7 separate regions of the Homo sapiens genome follow, and all the other regions are linked to region 6. The links are contacts of gene promoters, found by promoter capture Hi-C in blood cells and fetal thymus (Javierre and others, 2016). All regions are on one chromosome and are shown on one strand. Each heading gives the region's core, a stretch centred on a gene start or on the middle of the fragment in contact. The rest is flanking DNA. Distances are from core to core; before and after follow the strand shown. Region 1 overlaps MAP4K5 (mitogen-activated protein kinase kinase kinase kinase 5). Region 2 has its middle 9.0 kb from the start of MAP4K5. Region 3 holds the start of ARF6 (ARF GTPase 6). Region 4 has its middle 17 kb from the start of ARF6. Region 5 holds the start of ATL1 (atlastin GTPase 1). Region 6 holds the start of SOS2 (SOS Ras/Rho guanine nucleotide exchange factor 2). Region 7 overlaps MAP4K5 (mitogen-activated protein kinase kinase kinase kinase 5).

Region 1 (2,720 bases), core at 24-2,523, 290 kb after region 6:
GCCCCATAGGAGGCCTTCTATAAGTATTTGTTGAATGTTAAATACTCCTTTGCATCCTGTCCTCCCAGTTCTCCATCCCAGCTCCCATTCATTAACATGCCTCACTCTAACCATGCTCGCAGTGGAACAACTAGGACTGGAAATAAACAAACAAGGCTCCAGATCAGAAAGGGAGGGAGGTTTTTACATTTATCCCCTACTCTAGTCCCTAAAAATCCATCCTATGTTTTTTCCTTTTATCTGCTTTCTGAATTCTCAATTCCTCCCAAATTCTTTGTCTTGATTTCCTTCTCTGTAGAATTCCATCTCTAAACTCAGCAATCGTCTTAGACACTTGGGTGATACGACAAACTTAAAGAATGGTAACTGAATGCTGTAATCACTCAGTCTTGATGAAAGTAAAACCCTGAAACAAGAAGAAACATTTGTGTGCCTCATTTCTCTTTCCTGTCATAGCTAAGCTGCTTCAGAGAGCAGGCTACATTCCCTCTACTTCCTCACTTACCAATCATACCTCAACTCTACTCTTAATGAACCCTTCCAACTCCTTGCTTACATGACCACTATGCTGCTTACTCCTTCAAGGCATATTTATTGACCACATACTATATACTAGGCAATATACTAGTACAGGTGTTTCAACAGTAAACATAAGATCTCTGTTCTCATGCAGTTTTAGTCTACCAGGAAGACAAGCAAAAATGAGAAGTGATAAATGATGAGTATCATGATAAAAAATGTACATGGAGCTTTGAAAACATACAGCTGCTAGGTGTGACCTACTCTAAGGGACAGAAAAGCCCCCCCACCGAGAAATGTAATGTTTAAACAGAAACCCAAAGAGTAGGCGATAAGATGGAAGAGAAAGAGTGTTCTAAAGGAATACCTGCAAAAATCTGAAAGACAGAGAGTAGAGTGCATATAAAGAACTGAAAGTTCAGTATGGATACGGTATTGGGATAAGCAGGGCCTTAACAGGAATATTATTCTAAGACTTTATTCTACAGACAAAGGAAATAAAGGAGAAATGACACAAAACTTCAGATTTATATTTTTTGGAGAATGAATTCATCTTCCTCATTGCAGTTAGAGCAAACAGGAACAAGAATGGAGGCAGCTGATGATAGAGATCATCTCTTGAAACTTTTCGTTCCTATGAAAAGAACTTCCTCATACCGCTTTGTTTCTTCTCAGACACCTTCAATATATTATTTTTCTCTGCCACCCCTCTAAGGCTACAGCCTTTCCTCAGCTCTCCTACAAACTCTCCTGGGTGACCTCACCTATATTTCACAGGTACCACCCCATAAAGTGATGATGACTCCCAAACCTGTATCCCCAGTCCAGAACTCTCAAGGCCAGAGGTGCATTTCCTACCACCTACCAGACACATTCACCTATGCAATGCCTTATGTTCAAAACCAAACACAAAATCCAGACTCCACATATTTGGTATTTCCTAACTCTGTTGATAGCATCAATGTAGTCACTCAAGCCAGAAATTCTAAATGCCATCAATTACCCTTCTCCTCCTGCCCCTCACCGATTACCAGGTGTTTTTGATCATCTTCTAAATATGACTCAAATCCATCCCTTCCTTTCATCTTCTATACCAGGGCCTAAATTTAGTCTTGCATAAACTCTCATCCGGATTATTCGGGAACTGGTCTCTACATTTCTAGCCACTTTGTAAAATCCTTACACTACACTGTAAGATATTTCCTCCTAAAAAGTGTTTCTCTAGTCCGGGCACAGTGTACTCACACCCTAAAATCCCAGCACTTTGGGAGGCAGAGGTGGATGGATTGCTTGAGCCTCCGAGTTCAAGACCAGCCTGGGCAACATGGCGAAACCCCACCTTTACAAAAAAATAAAATAAAATACAGAAATTAACTGGGCATGGCAGTGTGTGCCAGTCCCAGCTACTCAGGAGGCTGAAGTGGGAGGATCACTTGAGCCTGGGAGGCGGAGGGTCTAGTGAGCTGAGATCATGCCACTACACTGCAGCCTAAGTGAAAAAGTAAGACCCTGTCTCAAAAAAATAAAAATAAATAATTGAAAAGGTCCAAATTCTTTGATATGACACATGGAGTCCATTAGCTGGTGTTTCCTGCCAGAAAATAGCCTCTATTCTCCATCTATAAAATAATAAAAATAAATAATTGAAATGACATCTCTGCCAGATGTCACACTGAACCTGGAATGAATACAGATGCAGATCTCTCAAAACTCATCACGGCTTCTCAAGCCTCCAGGTGTTTGCACATACTATACCCAAAGCCTGGAATATCTTTTCCTATCTTCTCTACCTAGAAACCACTGGTCTTCTTTTAAAAATCCAGTTAATGTTCCTTCCTCTGTTAATCTTCCTTGGTTCACACTCCTCTCTCTCCCTTCCTTCATCCCCAATAAAGGCAGAGTTTGGCATTTCTTCCACTTCTCCTCTATGGCACATAATTTTCTACCAAATTATGACTGCTTACATGTCTGCTTTCTTTTTTCTTTTTTGAGATGGAGTTTTGCTTTTGTTGCCCAGGCTGGAGTGAAGTGGCGCAATCTCAGCTCACTGCAACCTCCGACCCCCGGGTTCAACCAATTCTCTTGCCTCTCCCAAGTAGCTGGGATTATAGGCACCTGCCACCATGCCCGGCTAATTTTTGTATTTTTAATAGAGATGGGGTTTTGCCATGTTGGCCAGGCTGGTCTCAAACTGCTGACCT
Region 2 (2,700 bases), core at 130-2,629, 310 kb after region 6:
ATCCCTGAGTCTCTAGGAATGAATAAAACCATCAGCGTACTTAAGTGCCATTTGACATATGTAGGTGGAAAAATCCTGGGACTGATTGGTAGAAACCTAACTGAAATCTCTGTAACAGAGATTCAAGACATATTACCTGAATCTTAGACATAAACCAATTCACAAACCTGGAGTCCCTTAATTAAGGGTGAGGGCGGATGTCTTTGAGGGAGAGTCCCATAGTGCAGCCAGGTATAAACGGTGACTTTTCCCCAAGGCCATTTCCAGAGGTACTTGTAGCCTTTTACCAGGGTGATTGTGAGCTAAGGAATGGGTGATTCTCATACATTCTGGAGGTTAATTGATATTAGCTCTAAATAATAATCTCTGCAGTCTCAAAATACCGCCAAAATTCCAGTGATTAAAGTAGAGATTTAAGAAAGTCAAGTGGGACTAAAGATCCACTCTGGAGTTATTTTTCCAGTCCCAAAATATATGTGAGTATAGATATATTGAGTAGCAGAATTCCTACATTAGGTTTCTAGGGAGCTATTATGATAGGTAGGAACAAGTGTAACCTCCCTAGCTAACTTCTTACCCATGCCAAAGTAGAATACCAAGATTAAATTTGATCTCCAGGGAAATTACAGAGATTAGTGCCACCATTAAAGATATGAAAGATACAAGTCTTTTCCTTTTAACTCCTCTTGGCTTGTGCAATAGCCAAATTAGTTTTGGAGAATGTGGATTATTAAAAATTTAATCAAATGTTGATGCTAGTCATAGTTGTGGTTCCACATATGGGGGATCTTTACTAGAGCAAATCAGAACAGCTCTTGGCACCTAGAAGGTAGCTATTGACTTGAAAACTAGAAAGTAGCTTTCTTTTCAATTCCCGTCAGCAAAAATAATCAGAAGCAGTTTGCTTTCACATGATTGCAACAGCACTGTCATTGTACTACCTCAGGGATATTTAAAGACTTCTGTTCTATGATAGAGTATCATTCCAGAGGGACCTTTGTTTCCTTGATATCCAGTAGAATATCATGGTAGTCTTTTATCTTGATAACATTATGCAAATTGCACCTTGTGAGCAGGAAGTAGCAACCACCCTACATACTTTAAAAAATACCACTAATACCAGAGAACGAGAGATAAACCCAGTTCAGGAACCTGACACATTAGTGACATTTCTAACAAGGAAGTAGTGCTCTACCTTGTATCATCCACCTTAAAGATGCACAGTGTTTGTTTGGCCTGTTTGTATTTTGAGACAATGTACTGCATTTGCTACTCTTTGACCCATGTAACCTGTATGACTGCCACCTTGTTCATATCACTTGGAACTACATAATGTACTACAGAGAAGGCTATGATGCAAGCTGCCCTGACACTTAGGCTTTAGGATTCAGCAGACCCAATGGTAAACAGGAAACTGTATGGAGTCTCTTGCAACCCCAGTAGGAGAATCCCAATGCAGACCCCTAGGATTTTGGTATAAGAATATGCTGTTGGCCAGGCGCGGTGGCTCACGCCTGTAATCCCAGCATTTAGGGAGGCCGAGGCAGGAGGATCACGAGGTCAGGAGATTGAGATCACGGTGAAACCCCATCTCTCTAAAAATACAAAAAATTAGCTGGGTGCGGTGGCGAGTGCCTGTAGTCCCAGCTACTTGGGAAGCTGAGGCAGGAGAATGGCATGAACCCAGGAGGCAGAGCTTGTAGTGAGCCGAGATCGCGCCACTGCACTCCAGCCTGGGCGACAGAGCGAGATTCCGTCTCAAAAAAAAAAAAAAAAAAAAAAAAAAAAAAAAAAAAAAAAAAGAATATGCTGTTATCTGCTGACAGCTATTGTCTGTTTGAAAGGCAACTCTTGATTTACTTCTAGGTCTTAGTAGAGGCTAGACTCCTGACCACAGGATACTAAGTAACTATGTGACATTAACTGCTCTTTAGAAATTGGGAGTTACCCTGCATGTTCTCACTCATAAGTGAGAGTTGAACAATGAGAACACGTGGACACAGGGAGGGGAACATCACACACCGGGGGCCTGTGGTGTCGGGGGGAGGGGGTTGGGGGCAAGGGGAGAGAGAGCACTAGGACAAATACCTAATGCATACGGGACTTAAAACCTAAATGACAGGTTGATAGGTGCAGCAAACTACCATGGCATATGTATACCTGTGTAACAAACCTGCACATTCTGTACAGGTATCCCAGAACTTAAAGTAAAATTAAAAAAATAAAAGAAAATAAAAGAAATTGGATGTTACCTAATTTACTGGATCGTAAGTTGAACATGGGCAGCAGAATTCCGTTGTCAAATGGAAGAGTATACACTGAGGTGGCCTGAGATGATCTGGAAGACACAAGTAAATCATATGGAACAAATGTCCATTGGACCTGCCCTTACTTCTTTGCCACCTGTTTTTTTTTCAACCCATTATCTATAGGCTCATAGCCATTTAGCAGGGGAAGAAAAAGTTTAGGCTTGGTTTATTAATGGTCTGCATAATATGCTAGCACCAACTTGAAGCAGAGAGCCACAGAATTCTGTGCCCACACCATAATGGGGTGGCCCTGAAAGATAGGAGGAGAAATTCTCCCAGTGGATATAACTTTGAACAATACATCTGGTTGTCCTCTTTTTTAGGAAGAAGAGCTGATCTGAGGTATGGATCTGTACTGATTCATGCACAGTAGCTAATAGGTTGGTCAATT
Region 3 (2,700 bases), core at 69-2,568, 340 kb before region 6:
ATTTGATACAAAAATGTGTCCTTGGCAGGGCGCAGTGGCTCACGCCTGTAATCCCAGCATTTTGGGGGGCCGAGGCGGGTGGATCACCTGAGGTCAGGACTTCGAGACCAGCCTGGCCAACATGGTGAAACCCCGTCTCTACTAAAAATACAAAAATTAGCCGGGCGTGGTGGTGGGCGACCTAATTCCAGCTGCTCCGGAGGCTAAGGCAGAACTGCTTGAACCCAGGATGAGGAGGCTGCAGTGAGCCGAGATTGTGCAACTGGACTCCAGCCTGGGCGACAGAGTGAGACCCCGTCTCAAGAAACAAACAAAAACCAAAAAACCAAAAATGTGCCCTGAAGTCTTCCACATTGTATTATTTAAGCCTCACGTGAGTTAGCAAGGTCAGTTTACACGAGATAAACTTAGTAAGGTTAAGTGCCCAGATCCAGGCCATACAAGCGGTCGTTCTATATTCTAAATTCTATGCTTCTTAAAGTTAAGAATGGGTAGTAGTTAAGAAGCTACTACTAACAGTATGAGATAAAATGATATTTTAAAGATGAACAGATGTCGCATTCTAAAAAGGTGAAAACGCGGCAAGGCACAGGAACTCTTCATAATACTGCAGTTTTTAAGAAACATGGGCTGGTCTTGACGAGACCTATAGGCAGACAGGGCTCAAACATTCAAAAGAGCTGCAGAGTAAACTCAACTCCGGGAAAGCGCTGCACTGACTGGCAGATTCCACACGAGACACTGGCCTCCCACGTGTCTTTCAGGAAACATACAAAATTCAAGGGATAAAGGAAGCCAAGAAGGGGTTGCGAAAAAGGGAAAAAAAAAAAAAACAAAAGCGAACAGAGCTTCCCTGGGACGTTCAGGGAGCGCGGAGGGTGCGGGAAGGCTGGGGCGGGCGGAGGGAATTCGCAGAGCATCTGGCGGGCACCGAGGTCTGGGAACAGGCCTGGAGGCAGCTCGGTTCGTGGAGAGAGCGGGCTGCCCGTGGGCCCCACCCTGTAGGGCCCCCCAGTAGATCTGCTCCCTTGGTTCGGGTGGGCAGGGGAGGGCAGAGCGCAAAAGAGAAAAGCAGGGAAGGAGACGCTAGAAGAGCCACGGGTAGGCGCGAGTCAGAGTCCGAGGTTCGAGGGCTCTGGGCCGGCCGCATCTGCGAGCCCTCCGAGGCGCCGTAGCCCCGCCCCTCCGGCGCGTGGCGCCCATGACGCTAGGCGCGCGGGCCGCTCTCCTTACAGAGGTCGCTCTTGTCCGAACGGTCGGCCTCTGCTGCGCCTGCGTGGTCGGGAGGGGAAGTGAGGCGGTTTCCTCGGCGCCTTTTCCGGCAGCGGCGGCGGCAGAACTGGGAGGAGGAGTTGGAGGCCGGAGGGAGCCCGCGCTCGGGGCGGCGGCTGGAGGTAACCCCTTGGGCCGAGCTGGAAAGGCGGGCCACCTCGGTCTTCGCTCCTTTGTGGAGCTCTGGCAGTAACTCCCCTCCCTCTCTGTTTCTCTGCAGGCAGCGCACCGAGTTCCCGCGAGGATCCATGACCTGACGGGGCCCCGGAGCCGCGCTGCCTCTCGGGTGTCCTGGGTCGGTGGGGAGCCCAGTGCTCGCAGGCCGGCGGGCGGGCCGGAGGGCTGCAGTCTCCCTCGCGGTGAGAGGAAGGCGGAGGAGCGGGAACCGCGGCGGCGCTCGCGCGGCGCCTGCGGGGGGAAGGGCAGTTCCGGGCCGGGCCGCGCCTCAGCAGGGCGGCGGCTCCCAGCGCAGTCTCAGGGCCCGGGTGGCGGCGGCGACTGGAGAAATCAAGTTGTGCGGTCGGTGATGCCCGAGTGAGCGGGGGGCCTGGGCCTCTGCCCTTAGGAGGCAACTCCCACGCAGGCCGCAAAGGCGCTCTCGCGGCCGAGAGGCTTCGTTTCGGTTTCGCGGCGGCGGCGGCGTTGTTGGCTGAGGGGACCCGGGACACCTGAATGCCCCCGGCCCCGGCTCCTCCGACGCGATGGGGAAGGTGCTATCCAAAATCTTCGGGAACAAGGAAATGCGGATCCTCATGTTGGGCCTGGACGCGGCCGGCAAGACAACAATCCTGTACAAGTTGAAGCTGGGCCAGTCGGTGACCACCATTCCCACTGTGGGTTTCAACGTGGAGACGGTGACTTACAAAAATGTCAAGTTCAACGTATGGGATGTGGGCGGCCAGGACAAGATCCGGCCGCTCTGGCGGCATTACTACACTGGGACCCAAGGTCTCATCTTCGTAGTGGACTGCGCCGACCGCGACCGCATCGATGAGGCTCGCCAGGAGCTGCACCGCATTATCAATGACCGGGAGATGAGGGACGCCATAATCCTCATCTTCGCCAACAAGCAGGACCTGCCCGATGCCATGAAACCCCACGAGATCCAGGAGAAACTGGGCCTGACCCGGATTCGGGACAGGAACTGGTATGTGCAGCCCTCCTGTGCCACCTCAGGGGACGGACTCTATGAGGGGCTCACATGGTTAACCTCTAACTACAAATCTTAATGAGCATTCTCCACCCATCCCCTGGAAGGAGAGAAATCAAAAACCCATTCATAGGATTATCGCCACCATCACCTCTTTCAATTGCCACTTTCTCTTCTTTTGAATTTGAACTCTGGAGTTACTGTTCTACAGTTTGGCGGGGACGGGGCTTGGGGGTTTTCTCTTTTGTTTGTTTCCCTTTCTTTTTCCTTTTTTTTTT
Region 4 (2,751 bases), core at 9-2,508, 320 kb before region 6:
GATCGAGACCATCCTGGCTAACACGGTGAAACCCTGTCTCTACTGAAAATACAAAAAAAAATTAGCCGGGCGTGGTGGCGGGCGCCTGTAGTCCCAGCTACTCAGGAGGCTGAGGCAGGAGAATGGTGTGAACCCTGGAGGCGGAGCTTTCAGTGAGCCGAGATCGCGCCACTGTGCTCCAGCCTGGGCAACAGAGTGAGACTCCGTCTCAAAAAAAAAAAAAAATCTCAAATGTAACTAATGATCAAGTCTGTAGGTAAACATAGATAGGTCTCTCAAGGTAAACGCTGGCATATTATATAAAAAATTCTTGACCTTTTATGATTGATTGCTTGTCTTTATGACTTGGACTCTTTTTATAAGATTGGATTGCATTTTTAATTCTCTCCAACTCATGAGTAATACTTGATTTATGACAGTAAATGCATTTTACACAAGAACCTAATATTTAGAAACTTACTGAAGTATCTTAAATCCTGTTTTTGTCATCAAGACAAACTTGAATTAAAGACTAAAACATTACATTTTTATTTTTTATTTTTTTTGCTTAGTATAATAATATGGTAGTGGTATCTTAGGGGAAATGTTTTAAATAAATACTAATATATCTTTTTCTTTTATTATTTCTTGGGTATCTTGTTGAATACAGTATGGATTTTAGACTAGCATGACAACATTTCTAAATTGCCTTCTGGTCAAGAGTGGTGGTTCACACCTGTAATCCCAGTACTTTGGGAAGCCAAGATGGAAGGATTGCTTGAGGCCAAGAGTTTGAGACCCACCTGGGCAATATAGTGAGACCATGTCTGTTTTTTTTTTCTTTTTTTCAATAGAGATGAGGTTTTGCCATGTTGGCCAGGCTCGTCTCGAACTCCTGAGGCTCAAGTGAACCACCCACCTCGGCCTCCCAAAGCGCTGGGATTACAGGTGTGAGCCACCACACCCAGCTAGACCACATCTCTTTTTAAACAATCAATCAATCAATCAATCAATCAATCAATATGGTTGGCAGGGCTATTGTTTCCATATGCTTAGACATCCTAGACATGTTAATTTTTCTCCTTTCAAACCTATGGTAATTTCTAGGTTCTTTTTCTTGCTGCATGTCCCAATCTAATAAAACCTAAAGTGTTACCCACTGATACACCTCAGGGTCCATGCTGCTTTGCTGAGCATCAAAATAGTGATTTAGGAAATTGTGATTTCTGGATTCTGGATTACAGTGTTAGAAATACCCAAGAAATTAGGATCTGGAAACATCCTATGTATGATGCTATGAAGGCCATTCATTGAATGGAAAAAGGATTGAAGATGGAAGAGAACCTCCTTTCCTCATATAAGCCATATATGATACTTATCTTTTTTTTTTGAGATGGAGTTTCACTCTATCATCCAGGCTGGAGGGCAGTCGCGGGATCTTTGTGGCTCTCTGCAACCTCCGCCTCCTGGGTTCAAGGGATTCTCCTGCCTTAGCCTCCTGAGTACCTTGGATTACAGGTGTGTGCCACCACACTTAGCTGATTTTTGTATTTTTAGTAGAGATGGGGTTTTGCCATGTTTGCCAGGCTGGTCTTGAACTCCTGACCTCAGGTGATCCACCTGCCTCAGCCTTCCAAAGCGCTGGGATTACAGGCATGAGACATTGTGTCCAGCCCTTCCTACCTTTTTTTTTTTTTTTTTTTTTGCAAGCATTTTTAGTTTCCTTTCTGACAGGATTGATTTGGGTAAAGAACATTGAATTTTGAGTCAATAGTCTCAAATAGATAGACCTATGTTTGAATTCCAACCCTGACCTCAATAGCTAAGTGACACTGGAAAATCTATCTCTTTGTCTCAGTTTTCCTGCTAAAAATCGGGATGGTAATGTTCACCCAGCAAGGCTTTATCACAAAAAGTGGTAACTTATGAGAAAGTCCCTATCTGGCATGGTAAGCACTCAAGAGAAATTAGTTCTATTTTCCTTCTTCCCTCTAGTTTAATAATTTAAAAAATTAAATCATGCAGCCATAAAAAAGAATGAAATTATGTCCTTTGCAGCAACAAGGATGCAGTTGGAGGCCATTATCCTAAGCGAATTAACACAGAAACAGAAAACCTAATGCCGCACATTCTTACTTATAAGTGGGAGCTAAACACTGGGTACACACAGACACAAAGATGGGAACAGTAGGCATTGGGGATTCAAAAAGGCAGAAGAGAGGAAGGGGGGCCAGGTTTGAAGAACTACTTGTGTTCACTACTTGGATGATGGGATCATTAGAGGCCTAAACCTCAGCATCATGCAATATACCCATGTAACAAACCTGTGCCCGTACCCTCTGAATCTTGGATAAAAAAATAAAAGCAGGCCAGGAGCGGTGGCTCATCCCTATAATCCCAGCACTTTGGGAGGCTGAGGCGGGCGGATCACTTGAGGTCAGGAGTTCGAGCCCAGCCTGGCCAACATGATGATACCCCATCTCTACTAAAAATACAAAAATTAGCTGGGCACAGTGGTGGGCGCCTGTAGTCCCAGCTACTCGGGAGGCTGAGGCAGGAGAATCACCTGAACCCAGGAGGCCGATGTTGCAGTGAGCCAAGATTGCGCTGCTACACTCCAGCCTGGGTGACAGAGTGAGACTCCATCTCAAAAAAAAAAAAAAAAAAAAAAATATATATATATATATATATATATACACACACACACACACACACACACACACATACACATACACACACATACATATATTCAGTGAAAAAGATATTCTCAAG
Region 5 (2,811 bases), core at 133-2,632, 330 kb after region 6:
CCACACTTCTCTTTTGTTCTATGAACTTGGTTTATAGGTATAAGGATGAGATAATGTCTGTCTTCCTATGTTGTTTCATTAATGTCATTTCAACTCTGTTGAGCACAGACTTCTTTAAAACCATGTTGTAAACTTGGTTACAGTGTTCACGACTCTGCAGTCACTAGAACCAGTAACTGAAATATAATGCATAAGATTTGGCAGTGGTGGGGGAGTTTGTTTTCAGATATGTTGATGTTCAAATGTCAGTAGGAAAACAACGTGAGGATAACCTTAGGCAGTTATAAACACACCTCTGGTATAATGTCCTCTCTTCTAGAGGGCAGAAGACTACAAGTATAGATTTGGGAATCATCAGCATGGAGGTCCTGTCTGAAGCCATCATAGTAAATTACATTGAGAGAGTGTAGCGTGAGGAGTTGCTTACCATGAGGAATTAGCAGAGATCATGGATCTGGTAATTAAGAGGCTGGCAGTGATCTCCTAAGAACCGATCAGTACAGAGTGTGAGTAACAACCAAATGGCAGAAGGAAACTGTAAGGGACGGCATGATGGTATCTTGAGGTTGAGGTAGTATAAAGGGACAGTGTTTCCAGGTTACTGAAAACAACTAAGTTTGTAGCAGAGAGAAAGCAGTGAAAAGGGAAAGATTGAAAGTATTTTTATTTTTTTTCTTTTCCTTTCAAAATTGTCTGCAACCTTTATGGCTGCCAGGGCCCACCCATACCCAGACTATGTAGTATGATTTCAGCTCAAATAATTGCTATTGGACTATAGGTCTGGACCTTATCTTTGCAAATCTAGTGGGAAATTTTACCCAGTGGATATTGAGTTACAGATCGTAATGAATCTACAGCTTTCATTTATCTTGATCTTCTTGATATAAATTTTGCTATTCTAATTTTAAGACAAACTACTCAGTATACATATACAAAAATGCATGATACCCTCTTTACTAACATGACCTTGCTTTTAAAATGGAAAAAAAAATGGGTGCCTCGTAGATAAATGCACATTATTTTAGCTACTTTGGCTATATAAATGTTGCCAGCTTGTTTGTACTAATGTATAACCGTGCTTGAAACAGGTATTTGAACATCCAGAATCATGCAGTATATCGGTTTGTGTATTTCTGATAACGCTGTTAAATTCTTTGAGAGTGTGTTCGAGGGGGGTGCTGTTTATTTGTTTGTGTTTTCCGTTGAAAATGTTGCGGTACGTGGTCTATCACTGTCTTCACGGTCTGGGGGTGGACTGAGGTAGGGAGGGTGTGACGCTGGTATCTGTGTGAACTCGGGCTTGTGATGCTGAGCTTGGTTCATCTGCTTTCTCCTCCCTTTTCCTCCCCACTCCTTCCCACCAGCGCCACAGCAACATCCTCAGAGTCTGAGCGAACTGCGCCCAGCGCGGGCACGGAGCCTCCCACCGCCAGCAACCTGCGGCCCCGGAGAAGGCAGCGAGCGCAGTGACAGCGCCTCACCGCCACCAGCTCCTGGACCACCATGGCCAAGAACCGCAGGGACAGAAACAGTTGGGGTGAGTAGCAAATGAGAACTTCTGCAGCCTGCACGGGGTCTTCTGGCCCTCCACTTTCTGCTTCTGTGGAGACAGGGAGGGCCAAGGGCTGCTAGGTGCCTGCGTCCACGGCTGGGAGACGGGCCGTAGCCGAGCCGCTCCCTGTTTGGGCGGAGGAACCATGGCCGAGCGGTACCCGCGTCACCGAATCGCGCTGTCGGGGTGAGGGCTGCAGCTTCGCGCAGGCCGGGCCTCCAGCTCCTTCTTCCCCACCCCCCTCCCGCCTCCTCCCAGCATTTGGACAGCACCCACCAGGCGCCTCCGGGGACTTGTGGGTTCCGCCTTAGCGATCGGTTGGGAGGAAGGCTATGGGGGTGGGCAGGGGGCTGTTGTTACTCGGCCCCAGAGGGGCGAGGGGTCGGGGATCTAGAGCAGGCCAAGCCCCAACCCCCCTCCCCGGGAGCCGCCAACTCGCTGGCTCTGCAGGGCGCGGGCTCCCGGCGGCGGGCGGCGGGCGGCGCGCTGGAACAATGAGGCGGAGCGCGCCGGGTCCCGGACGGACGGTAGCAGACCGAGCAACTGGGAGAAGGGCCACCCTCTTGGGAATTCCTGAGCACTGCAGTACTCCTCTTAATTTGGGGGTTGGGTGGGGGAATTGGGGAAGAAGGAGAGCAAAGTTGTGGTTTCCAGCCTTCTGCCCCACCCCGACGTGGTACCCCATTCAGACCAGCCCCAAGGGTGGCTTTGTTCTTTGATTTTACCTTTTGGAGACATTGGGCTCATGATTCAGCACCAGGCCGAGGGGAGGGGAAAGGAGAGGCGAGACCCAGTATGTTCACACCGCGAGTGGGTGGGCGGTGCTCACGCAGGCGGAGAAGAACGGGCGCAGCGATGCGGAAGAAATCGCGGCCCCGCCCGCCTTGCTGCTCCAGACCTAGTTCTGGACGGTTAGTGTGGGCAGGCTGGGCGTCTTTTTGTCGTAGGTTCCCGATTTCTTGCAGTCACAGTGCTAAACTCACCAGCATCTTAGGAACGAAAGCCCTCTAAGGCATTTATTTTATTATCTGAACCAGAGAATGTCTCAGGCTACTGTGGCTTGGTGGGTAAATAAATATTTTGTTCATCAGCTTGTTATTTAGAAATTGTTATTTGGAAATAACAGTTGTTATTATTTGAAAAGTTCAGAGCTGCTTGATTCTGTTCCACATCTCAGTGAGAGCTCTTCTATAACTGTTTATTTGAGCGAGAGGCACAAATGTAAATTTTAATTGGTTATTTCAGTTTACTTTAATCAA
Region 6 (2,700 bases), core at 138-2,637:
ATTTAATGTCTGAGGATATATTTTCCAAGTATAGTCTTTTAAATTAATCTTTATTTTTTCCTTATTTTAGAATGTATTCTTGGTTATTTTGCACAAAAGGCAGAAGAGACTAAGTCTGCATTAACGGCAAAGAAAGAAAGCCCCTGCTCAACAGGCATGACAGCTGATCACGCACCTATTCACAGTCTTTAAATGTCTTGATCTTACAGAAGGATTTATTATAAAAATGATCGTATGGTTACTACCTAAATTCACAGAGGAAGACCGCCACCATCTACAGGAAAGATGCACCCTAGCAATGCACCCAAACATGAAAGACTGATTTGCAGGAGTTGCCCCTTTCTTGTTCCTTAAAATGATTTCAAGTCCTAAATCGCAATTTGGTCGTGAAGACACTGAAGACACTGACCAAATTTTCTAAGGGTAATCTCTTGTAAACAGGTAAGACACCGTTTGCAGGAAGTGGGAAGGCGCTTTAAATTTACCTTGAGAACTGTAAAATGAATAAGAATATTATGACTCACTGACATTTCACACATGTGAAACATCCATATTACAAAAAACCATTGCCTCATAAGTGGATACCCTTGACAAGCAAACCGCCTAGGGGGAACACTCCCAAAGAACTTAATTAAAAGTAATTACCCGGCCTGAAAATGTGCTTTTGTTTTAGAAACTGTCTAAATACCAGCGGGACTTTCTCTTGCCCGATTCCAGCCTGAGGACAACAAATTGGTCAACGGCGGAAGTTGCCTGACGAAATGACTGCAACATGAAATCCAGTTTTATGATCATAACAAAACCTTCCTTCCGGGACCAGGCAAAAAAAAAAAACTTGAGAAACGTCCTTCAGAATGCAACAGGCAATTGTGAGCCCCCCATTGCCAGCCAACGAGAAACGGCTCGGCCCCGGGGACTCGAGCCCTGTGGGAGGGACGACCTGCTCCCCGTTAGAAGCTCGGGGGGCCACGGGCCACCCGCCGGCCGCCCCGCCCCTAGCACTGACCTTCCGCAGGGCCGAGACCAACAGTCCCCGCCATTTCGGACTGTTCTCCTCGCTGAAGAACTCGTAAGGCTGCGGCGCCTGCTGCATGGCCCCGGCGACAGCGCCTCCGCATCGGGGGCAGCCCGCGGGCCGGGCCGGTGGCCTGACAGGCAGGGCGCGGGCCGCCTCGCCTCGCCGGCGGCCGCCGCCTCCCGCCCGGGCCGAGGCTACGGCCGAGGCGGCTCGGAGGCGGCGCCGGCGGGCTGGCGGAGACCCCGGGGTCGGCTTCCTCCGCCGAGGCGGCCCTCGCCTCCCGCAGCGCCCGCAGAGGAAGCGCGGCGACCCGCAAGCCCGGGCGACCCCGGGCGGCGACCTCCTTTCCCGGCGGCGCTGGCCCGCTTCTGGGGCGGCTCCTCCTCCTTTGTCTGGGTTCGCGGCCCGTCAGGGGTACAGCTGGCCCAGCCCCGCCCCGACTCCCGCTACGGCCGCGGCGGGCGGTGAGCAGCGGCGGCGGCGGCGGCGGCTGCTCGTCTCCTCATCGCCTCCTCCCCGCCCTCCCAGCCGACAGCGCCGCCCGGCCCTGCCCACTCGAGTCACCTCCACAGAGCTCTGGGGACCGACCCGGAGTGCGCGTCGGGCGAGCGAGCCTCGCTATGGCGCGCACAGCGCTGGCCGCCGTTGCTGCCCCTTTAGCAGCAGCGCAGAGTGCCTTGGGGTCGCCGCTGAGCCCTGAGTCCCAGCAGCCGAGGCTCGGCCCGCCCCCTCGGCCCGGCGCTCATTATCCCGAATAGCCCAAGAGGCCTAACACGGAGCATGCGCGCCGCGGAGCAGGCACAGGCGCCAGCCCGGCGCGGGGGTGCGGGGCCTGGGGCCCCGGGGGAGTCCGCTTTTCCCGAGACTGTGCTGGGGGCCGCTCCAGACTCTTCAGTTTGACTGCTTTTTACCCATATGCTCCCTCCTCTCGACCTGCTTAAGACAATCCGGACTCGGTGCCACTCTTGTAGCGCTGGAGCCCCAGGACTACCGTCGTGGGAGGCTGCATAGGGACGTGGAGAGAAAGGGGCATTCGGGCTGGACAGGATATTTAACGTATTTGTGCTCTACGTGGCTTGTTTTCATGAGTACCGTATGTTTACACAAAGTAGGTACTATATATAATATATCGTTAGGAGATACAGTAACTATTTCTTAGGGTGATGGTGTGGGGACCGAGAGATGAGGCGTGGAAAGCCCTTAGCCTGGTGGTAGGGTCAGAAGGGGCAGATGACAGTGACGTTGATCAAGCTTGAATTGAAAGGTCCTTCACTTGCACGGGCCCCTGTGCGTTCACAAAATCATATCGTTTTTACAAAACTTTCAAGATATTTTCGAATTGTTTTCTTAATCGTGTCATCCAAATTGTGTAGGCTTCAGGTCCTACAAAACCTGGATCGGCGTCTAGGAAACACTCATTAGCAACCCAGAAAAGATCCTGACAAGCTTTTCAATCCAAAGAGGCATAGGCTCTGGTAACTCATTACCACAAATTTCATCCCACTAAAGAGGCTGAGCACATTACTTTTAACAGGTTGTAAAGAAGATATTTTACTCCCTGTCCCTAGCCACCAGCAGTGAGAAAGGGAAAAGACGAACAGGGTACAAAAAATAAGTCAGTACTACAATTCAGTTCCGGCATCAGTAGCTGAGCAATTATTCTCCCCAAAACATGCACCACT
Region 7 (2,700 bases), core at 99-2,598, 270 kb after region 6:
CAATAATAAAATACAAATAACCTGATAGGACTGGGGCAAGGCATAAGAATAGGCAACCAAAAAAATTTTTAAATGGCCAAATACTAAGATCACATCATCAATATTTACTGAACTTCCATGTTATTCTTTTTTGGGGGACAGGTTGAAATATTACTCAATCTTAATACATGGGTCACATCTAACATAAAATAATCAGTAGCTTTTACAAAACAAGGCAGTGAGAAATTCCAGCCTTTCAAAAGAGTCTTATGATCCTTGCATTTAATCCTTATATTTTAAGTAATCATACACATATTTTTCTTTTTTACTGAATTGCCTTCTTATGTTAGTTCTAATATATGGCTTATTGAGAATTCAGAATTGCAGGATTTAAAAAATACACTCATTAATTCATTATAATGAACTATAATATTAGGTTGGCAAAAACTGCTATAATATTAGGTTGGCAAAAACTGCAATTATTTATGCATCAACCTAATGAAAAATAAGCCATACCCTCAAGTCAAGTAAGTGAAACCGTGTTGTAACAAGCCCACTGCACTCGCTTAAGACAGAAAAGGGATAAATATCTTTGTTTTCTCTGAGAGCACACGCCAGTACCTGGACATAACTTGAATAACCATCCTTGAACATAATTTGAATATTTGCTCTAGTGACTTTTCCAGGACAGGCAAAGGCTTGTATAGTTCTGTTATATTCCCTATTTGTGTTAGTGACATTTTGGAGATCATTTTAAACTTATTAGGTGGCACTTAATAAGAGGATCCTGAAAGAGTATTATTATAACAATTTCTATTTGCCAGGACAAAAAAGATACTGGGACATATCTGAAAGCTTATTTTTAAAGTGTTCCAGCATATGCTACCTCAGTACTATTATCTCTCTAATGAATCACATGTATAATGATTCAAATACTGTGTTTGAAATGCAAAGTCATTTTAACCGCTCAAACTAGGAAACTGGCATAATTATGGTCACAAACTTATCCTACGTGCCTAAGCTTATGAACCAGCAAATGAACATACCACCAAATATTCGCTTACCTGGTCAAAAACTACTACTGCACTCATTAGAAACTTTTAGGATATCAAAATCATAAAACCGTTCCAGGACTATAGTTTTATTTGCAAAGCAAACTATTCAATGTGTTTTGAAACAAGCAGTCTTCTGACACACAGAAGTGTTAATAAAATAAGCATTAAGCTAAGACCAGAATTAACAAACCTAAATCAATCAAAGGGAATAGCTGACAAACAAATGTCATTATCCCAAATATTCACCCCAAAAAATCATTGAATACTTTCCTAATCAAATTCTCATAAAAGCTAAACCTGAAGTTCAAATACTTCACTATCATCTTAAAAGAAAATTACTTTAACAGTGTCAATGTGTCTTCCAATTCTGAATGTGTACATGTCAAATTTTATTTGGCAACAAAACTGTCACATCAAACTTACCTTTAACTAACCACCTTCAGGGTAATTTAATTGAAGATATTCTACTGACCTGATAGAACATATAAAGACTTCTTCTGGGAAGAAGGGAAACAAGGAAAGAAATATGGAAAACCCTCAAAAATTGTCTTGAGGGTTTTAACACATACCAGGCTCCAATTTAATGATTTTTACTGCAGCCAGCTCTCCTGTGTGTACATTTCTGGCCTAAAAATAAAATAAAAACAAAAATCTTGTTAATTAAAAGCTTGTTAATTACATTAAAATTACTTGGTACTATGTTAATTGCTTATCAACCATACTTTTATCAAAACTAAAAAACAAAATATTTCCAATAAAATGCTGAGCAAACTCATTTTCCCATTAAAGAAAAATATAGATAAGACACAAAAGTGTTTAAAAAATTACCAATAGTCCCACCACTCAAAAACAGCTCCTGTTTAAAATTTGGTCTACTTCCTCCAAGGCTTTTCTTCAGCCTCGGGTTAGTTAATATTTTTAATTTTAAAAATCTCATGGGTTTTATTTATATCAGAAAACATAATCATAGGTCATTAAAAATTTTCATCATCTGTATCTAACTACCTAGAGAAAAACAGTGAACATTTCAGTGTACATGCATCTCTTTCCTGGTACACATATGTATATGCATGTGCATTATGGAAGAAGATGACCCCATCATAGTCTTCTAAGACATGATTACAAATGCTGCCTGATTTTCCACTGACAGGATATATAATTTACCCAACCCTCTATTGTTGGGCATTTACAATTTTAATATTATTTTCAAGTTATAAAAATAGGGATACATATATCTTAGCTTTGTATCTATCCACAGCCTTATTTCCTTCAGTTAAATGTCTAGAAGAGAAACTATTTACTATTTAACACAATATCAACAAACTTACTATAATTAGCACTGCAATGAATATCATTACCAATATTTTACCATAGATCAGCTTATAAGGAAGGCAACCTAGACATACAATTGTGAGACCAAAAGGTATGTGGACTTATAATGGGTATGTTGCCATATTGCTCTAAAACACTGTGCGAATTTTTACTGTCATCGACCTTGGATGTTAAAACCTTGGATGTTAAAACCATGTCTGCCAAAACTTATTGTTGGTGAAAATTAAATGATTATAACATAGTCCATATAATAATCCTCTTTATTGTTGGACATAAAGGATGTTACATATAGTCTTTTCATTATTTAAGACATATTTGTTTTAAATGGATTCTA

What was found. Contacts are between HindIII fragments. The CHiCAGO score rates a contact against its expected background, and 5 or more counts as called.
Region 1: a contact is called between a fragment that was not itself captured here and the fragment with the promoter of SOS2 in region 6, in 7 of 17 cell types (activated CD4 T cells, erythroblasts, M2 macrophages and 4 more). The highest score is 7.6, in activated CD4 T cells.
Region 2: a contact is called between a fragment that was not itself captured here and the fragment with the promoter of SOS2 in region 6, in 10 of 17 cell types (monocytes, activated CD4 T cells, M1 macrophages and 7 more). The highest score is 7.8, in monocytes.
Region 3: the fragment with the promoter of ARF6 here is called in contact with the fragment with the promoter of SOS2 in region 6 in 11 of 17 cell types (non-activated CD4 T cells, total CD4 T cells, naive CD8 T cells and 8 more); the score reaches 10.6 in non-activated CD4 T cells.
Region 4: a fragment that was not itself captured here is called in contact with the fragment with the promoter of SOS2 in region 6 in 3 of 17 cell types (erythroblasts, M1 macrophages and total B cells); the score reaches 6.0 in erythroblasts.
Region 5: a contact is called between the fragment with the promoter of ATL1 here and the fragment with the promoter of SOS2 in region 6, in 2 of 17 cell types (M2 macrophages and M1 macrophages). The highest score is 6.1, in M2 macrophages.
Region 7: a fragment that was not itself captured here is called in contact with the fragment with the promoter of SOS2 in region 6 in 1 of 17 cell types (erythroblasts); the score reaches 5.1 in erythroblasts.

Annotation. Positions count from the first base shown.
Region 1 is chr14:50,523,809-50,526,528 of GRCh38, forward strand. The region is part of intron 2 of MAP4K5 (mitogen-activated protein kinase kinase kinase kinase 5); the gene reads right to left. Among named protein-coding and RNA genes, the nearest start is that of MAP4K5, 7.4 kb to the right of the region's middle. The HindIII fragment of the contact is 3,320 bases long and covers 1-2,720 here.
Region 2 is chr14:50,540,247-50,542,946 of GRCh38, forward strand. It overlaps a transcript of MAP4K5 not described here and a transcript of ATL1 not described here. Among named protein-coding and RNA genes, the nearest start is that of MAP4K5, 9.0 kb to the left of the region's middle. The HindIII fragment of the contact is 3,612 bases long and covers 1-2,700 here.
Region 3 is chr14:49,891,764-49,894,463 of GRCh38, forward strand. ARF6 (ARF GTPase 6) reads left to right here and starts at 1,319. Exons shown (of 2, transcript NM_001663.4): 1 at 1,319-1,394; 2 at 1,493-2,700. The coding sequence starts at 1,974. The coding sequence ends at 2,501. RefSeq lists enhancers at 879-978, 1,849-2,168, 2,199-2,248 and silencers at 1,069-1,458, 1,499-1,688. The HindIII fragment of the contact is 6,329 bases long and covers 1-2,700 here.
Region 4 is chr14:49,908,855-49,911,605 of GRCh38, forward strand. No RefSeq gene overlaps it. Among named protein-coding and RNA genes, the nearest start is that of ARF6, 17 kb to the left of the region's middle. The HindIII fragment of the contact is 4,514 bases long and covers 1-2,751 here.
Region 5 is chr14:50,558,763-50,561,573 of GRCh38, forward strand. ATL1 (atlastin GTPase 1) reads left to right here and starts at 1,383. Exons shown (of 14, transcript NM_015915.5): 1 at 1,383-1,537. The coding sequence starts at 1,504. It also overlaps a transcript of MAP4K5 not described here. RefSeq lists an enhancer at 1,477-1,976 and a silencer at 1,718-2,077. The HindIII fragment of the contact is 3,968 bases long and covers 1-2,811 here.
Region 6 is chr14:50,230,191-50,232,890 of GRCh38, forward strand. SOS2 (SOS Ras/Rho guanine nucleotide exchange factor 2) reads right to left here and starts at 1,388. Exons shown (of 23, transcript NM_006939.4): 1 at 1,007-1,388. The coding sequence starts at 1,093. RefSeq lists a silencer at 980-2,059 and an enhancer at 2,210-2,299. The HindIII fragment of the contact is 6,352 bases long and covers 1-2,267 here.
Region 7 is chr14:50,503,197-50,505,896 of GRCh38, forward strand. MAP4K5 (mitogen-activated protein kinase kinase kinase kinase 5) reads right to left here. Exons shown (of 33, transcript NM_006575.6): 3 at 1,604-1,661. Among named protein-coding and RNA genes, the nearest start is that of MAP4K5, 28 kb to the right of the region's middle. The HindIII fragment of the contact is 701 bases long and covers 999-1,699 here.